2 separate regions of the Homo sapiens genome follow, and region 1 is linked to region 2. Evidence: promoter capture Hi-C in human tissues and cell types (Jung and others, 2019). All regions are on one chromosome and are shown on one strand. The core of a region is centred on a gene start or on the middle of the fragment in contact, and the rest is flanking DNA. Distances in the headings are between cores, read along the strand shown.

Evidence for each region. Contacts are between HindIII fragments. The study calls those that stand out against the background at their distance.
Region 1: a fragment that was not itself captured here is called in contact with the fragment with the promoter of ICMT in region 2 in 1 of the 25 tissues and cell types used here (mesendoderm cells).

What each region holds. Positions count from the first base shown.
Region 1 is chr1:7,296,645-7,299,344 of GRCh38, reverse strand. All of the region lies in intron 5 of CAMTA1 (calmodulin binding transcription activator 1), which reads right to left. Among named protein-coding and RNA genes, the nearest start is that of CAMTA1-IT1, 66 kb to the left of the region's middle. The HindIII fragment of the contact is 6,022 bases long and covers 1-2,700 here.
Region 2 is chr1:6,234,593-6,237,292 of GRCh38, reverse strand. It overlaps ICMT (isoprenylcysteine carboxyl methyltransferase), which reads left to right and starts at 1,329. Exons shown (of 5, transcript NM_012405.4): 1 at 1,329-1,576; 2 at 2,319-2,407. The coding sequence starts at 1,382. It overlaps ICMT-DT (ICMT divergent transcript), which reads right to left and starts at 1,053. Exons shown (of 5, transcript NR_103534.1): 1 at 957-1,053; 2 at 143-327; 3 at 1-48. RefSeq lists an enhancer at 124-1,096 and silencers at 1,061-1,390, 1,601-1,660. The HindIII fragment of the contact is 11,307 bases long and covers 1-2,700 here.

The DNA.
Region 1 (2,700 bases), core at 36-2,535, 1.1 Mb before region 2:
GTCAAAGGCGAAGCTCTTGCTCAGAGGCTCAGATGATTTCAACAACATTTTTAGATGTACAAAGTATGTTTCATATAAAGAAATCAAGTCATTGTTTCATATACGATTTTATTATGAAGAAGTAATATCTGCTTAATAAAGAATCCATGAAAACGAAGGAAGCACTAGGCAGGGAATCAGGTCTCCCCACCTCCAGCACATATTTTAAAACAGAATTTTCAGAGACTTTGAATTTTCAGGAAGCAGACCTAGAGAGGGGAAGGTACTTGCTTAAGGTCACACAGCAAGTCAGTGGAGAGGCAAGATGCAAACTCAGGACATCTGACTTCATCATCTTGGCCCCTTAGTCAAAGCAAATAGCCTCCTTAGCTCATTGCTACAAAAGGAAACAGTTGAGTCCAAAACCCTTGGGTCTGGTCGGCAAGGGAAGAGAGAGGAAGGAAGGGTGAAATGTTGGCTGCTCGGGACTGTTCTGTCTTAAACATTTTGGTGATTCTCTTCTGAGCCCATTAGGGACTGACTCACCCACGTGTCTGAAATGGTCCCTGAGTGCGTTCCTGGGGCCCTGGATAAGGAACTGGGAGAGCTTCAGAACCTAACACAATGCCTGGCATTTGCTTAATAAAAGTTTGCTGGATAAACAATTTGGTAAATATATATTACAAAATGTATTGATAAATACCTAATTCCCCCAGAGAGAAGTGGTAAAATTCTAATATACAAGAGACCTTGGTAACCTGGGGCCCTTTAGAAACAAAAATCTAGAATTTCCCCTGTAGCAAATGACCGGAATTCCGCCCCTGTAGATGGTGGAAATGTACTTGTGTAGACAGTCCCAGAAGAGAGGGCTGCATGTGGCAGGTCAGGCAGTATTAAGGGTCCCGTTTCTATTCATGGCTCATGGCCAAGAAAAAGATACTCACTGGCCCTCAGAGTAGAAATACATTCCTGGGGACCCCAGGGGATCCACAGGAACTTGTCAGTGACTTTCATAGAGAGGAAAAGACCTGCGGGGTGGGGGGTGGATCATGCATCTCTGGAGAAGGCTAAAATGACAATGCAGCCCCTACTGTTATACCCAGGGATTCCTGATTTGTTTCTCTGATGCTAATCCTACACCCCGCACAGGAAGGCCACCCTCGTACTCAGCCCTGTAGCTTGCCATCCAAAGGCTTCCCATTGAGTCTTCCTTGAGAATCCTTCCCTGGGAGTCCTCTACAGACAGATACCAGCCTAAAAAGGCAACTGAAAAGAATTTACATGGTCTTTGTTCATTTCAGATTATAAATTGTTTGACTCAATTTTATTTCAACTGAAAGGACTACAAACATATATAGAACTGCCGCTGACAAGGGTGATGAGCTGGTATAGGGAATGGGAAGGAATGGTAAACATTAAACCAAATAGATATTGATTCCTGCCACAATGAAGTGACTAGGATTGGATTTGCCCTCCTGCTGTAAACAATCATGAAACTAGACAAAAATATCTGAGGCTACTCTTTGTAGGGATTGTACAACAGGCAGTTCAGGACTGTGGTTCTGCCAGAAAAAAAACACACAAGATAAGCCCCATGTTTGCCCAGCCTTTTGGCCCATTATGCAGGACGATGGGGCACAGCAGCCTAGATTATAGGAGAAGGCAAAAATCAAGAGTTTGGGGCTGCTAAAGCAGCTAGAACTTACAGGTCTGGGCTCTGGAGAGAAGAATCTTGTGCAGAAAGTAGGCCCTAGAAGTCTGCCTGGAGGTACCCTGTGAGTACTTGGTTGAGGGCAGAACTGCCCACATGCAGGGCAAAACTCCATAGCTGTTATAAGACTGAAAGCTAAGCAGAGATACTAGAAGTCATGCAGAGCTGGCAGAGCTTTGAATTCTGGCCAAGCCAGACGAGAGAACCCTTGCTGAGTACCTTGGGCATTTGTTCCCCAAAAGGCCAGGCCTTAGGAACAAGGACTATACCCTACAGGAAAGGCCAAAGCCTAGGAATAAGGGCAAAATAAAAATGGACCAACTCTAATAAAGATTCAAACCAAGCCTGACCAGACCAAGAGGATCTGCCAGTAATTAACTGACCTGCCAGAACAAAATTCAACACCTTTTATAGAAAACAACATAACCCACACTCCCCTACCACATATCTTCTAAAATATCTAGAATAGAGATATACCATGTTCATGGATTAAAATTGGACTACAGATTTAACAAACTCAAAGAGCTTTTTACTCTTTTTGGGCAGGGAGAAATTATTTTTGCAAAATTAGGACATTTCTGAAAATACAGTTTTGTAGCTTTCTTTTTCCATTTGGTCCTCCATCCCCTCTCACCAAGCATTTGGCACAGCTAACCATTTCCTCCTTCTTGGAAGCCCCTCTTCACCTGGCTTCCAGGTCACCATGCTTTCCTGGTTTTCTTGCCCCCTGTGTCTCCATTTCCTTTGCTGGCTCTCCCTTTTTGTCCAGGCAGCTAAATGTTTTAGGTGTCAGGGGTCTAAGTCTTTAGTCATTTTCTCTCCTTTATACTCTTTCTCTCGGTGGTCATCCGTGATTAATGACTACAAAAGTCTGTATCTCTGGTCTGACTGCTCCCCTGAGCTCCAGACATATGTATTCAATGGGCCACTTGACATCTACATCTGAACATCACCCTTGACGTGGCCAAAACAGAACTCTTTATTCTCCCCCTAGACCTGCTCCACTACCA
Region 2 (2,700 bases), core at 80-2,579:
TTCCAGACTGCCGCACTCCAGCCTGGCCAACACAGTGAGACCCTGTGTCTAAAAAAGAAAAAAAGAAAAAAAAAAGGTACATATATAGTCGGCGTTATACCATTTTGGCTGATAGCTTGATCATTTTCCCAGGCTCAGATACCTGCCCTTTTTCCCCAAGTGAAGTCAGGATCACACCGAAAAGCTTTGCCTCCTGCTATTTAAAAACCTAATATAGGCAGGGCGCGGTGGCTCACGTCTGTAATCTCAGCACTTTGGGAGGCCGAAGCGGGCGGATCACGAAGTCAGGAGATGGATCCCGGCTAACACGGTGAAACCCCGTCTCTACTAAAAATACAAAAAAATAAGACGGGCGCAGTGGCGGGCGCCTGTAGTCCCAGCTACTCGGGAGGCTGAGACAGGAGAATGGCGTGAACCCGGGAGGCGGAGCTTGCAGTGAGCCGAGATCGCACCACTGCACTCCAGCCTGGGCGACAGAGCGAGACTCCGTCTCAAAAAAAAAAGAAAACCTAACATATCCTGAGCATTCCCATCACCGTCCAGCCTTGTTCCACAACAGGAATTTAAGCGGGCGGTGGTCCCGTTGCATGGATGCCCAGGTGCCGTTGTCCAGGCCGGTTTCCAGGGAGCCGCAGAGGGAGGGCAGGAGGTCGCCGCACTTGGCCCCGCGCCCCAGGGCGTCTGGTTTTCGGGGACGACGCAGGGCCGGCGAGGGTGCGGCCGTTTCAAAATTTTTTTTTTTGAGATGGAGTGTCACTCTGTCACCCAGGCTGGAGTGCAGTGACACAATCTCGGCTCACTGCAACCTCCGTCTCCCCGGATCAAGCGATTCTCCTGCCTCAGCCTCACCAAGTAGCTGGGGTTAAAGGCGTGCGCCACCACGCCCAGCTAATTTTTGTATTTTTAGTATAGACGGCGTTTCCCCATGTTGCCCAGGTTGGTCTCGAACTCCTGACCTCAAATGATTCGCCAGCCTCGGCCTCCCAAAGTGCTGGGATTACAGGCGTGAGCCACCGCGCTCGGCTCGTTTCAAACTTTACATTGCTTCTTGGGACAGGAACCTCCTGAGTTTGGGACTAAGTTTGGACAGACGCGGGCGGCGACTTCTCCCACCACTTCCCGGCCCCCGCCCGGCACAGAGTCTGGCTCAGAGCCCGGATGTCCCCGAGGGGCGGGGAGGGGCGGGCGGGCGGGGCGCTCCCGCCAAATTCCGGACAGCAACAGGGCGGGCCGGAGTTCTCGCGAGAACTGGCAGGCGGCGCGCAGCTGCGGGCAGCTGCCCTTCCCGGGCCGGCATCGGCGGCACAGTGCGCAGGCGCAGCCGGCGCGTTTCTCCGGGCTACAGCCGGCGCCGCCGCCCGCTAGTCCGCCGCCCGGCGCCATGGCGGGCTGCGCGGCGCGGGCTCCGCCGGGCTCTGAGGCGCGTCTCAGCCTCGCCACCTTCCTGCTGGGCGCCTCGGTGCTCGCGCTGCCGCTGCTCACGCGCGCCGGCCTGCAGGGCCGCACCGGGCTGGCGCTCTACGTGGCCGGGCTCAACGCGCTGCTGCTGCTGCTCTATCGGCCGCCTCGCTACCAGGTGCAGGCCGGCGGGGGCCGGCGGGGGCCGGCGGGGCGGGCGGCGGTCCGCTTGGCGCGGCGCGTGGGCACCTTTCTCCCCGGGCCCGCAGTGGCCTCCCACGCGCGCGCTCTTCATCCGCGAGTTCAGGTCGCAGGAGGGGACCCTCTCTCTCCGGGCTCGGGCGCCCTGCACCCGAGGAGTGGGTTGTTAAATTGCAGCTTGTGCAGCTCAGCAGGTGCGCGTGGGGTGGAGTGAGCGAGCCCGCGAGTGCTTTTATGTAACTTAAGGTGCAGAGACCTACCTGCTGCCCTGTCTCAGGTCAAAGGCCCCGCAGTGACGTGGGTGGGGCTGGGCGCACAGGCCCGGGTGCCCTGACCTCATAAACTAGGCTTAAGCAGTTTTCCTACAGCCCTGAATAGTAATCACGAATAATAATAATAATGACAGCTAAAATGTAGGTAGCAGTTAGTCTTAAGTGTTTTACGTGGGTAATCCTTACTGCAGTCCTAAAAGGTAGGTACTGTTATCCCCTGGCTGTAGATGGGGAAGCAAGCTCAGAGAGGTTAAATAATTTGGGAGGCCACACAGCCAGAGAGCGGTGGGTGCAGAATTTGAACCCAGGTCGCCCACTTCTCCCTTTCAACCTCAGCAAATCGGCTCTATCTGCTTGCCTGTGGGTTGCCTATTCCGGGAAGGTCAGCAGCCCAGATCTGTACTCTGAGGACTGTGAATGACTGAGCTTCTCTTGGGTTCCTTTCAGATAGCCATCCGAGCTTGTTTCCTGGGGTTTGTGTTCGGCTGCGGCACGCTGCTAAGTTTTAGCCAGTCTTCTTGGAGTCACTTTGGCTGGTAAGAATTCCTTCGGAAATACTGGTTTTCAGGCGAGGGTGGACAGATCAGAGGGTCTGTAGCGGCATTTCCTCATCCCTGTCTCATCTGTGACCGGCAGAAGGCTGTTCAGGGTTCTCTGGAAACGAAGTCTCCTGGCTTCCCCCTAGTTGCTCACATTTCAGCCCTTGTGATTTCGTGCCTGTGGGTTGATTGTGAATCAGGCAGAAACAGATCTCCCTGGCACCCCCAAAGGTGCTGTCATCCGCAGCTGTGGTGACAGCATTCCGTAACTTGAGCAGCCCTTCCCGGAA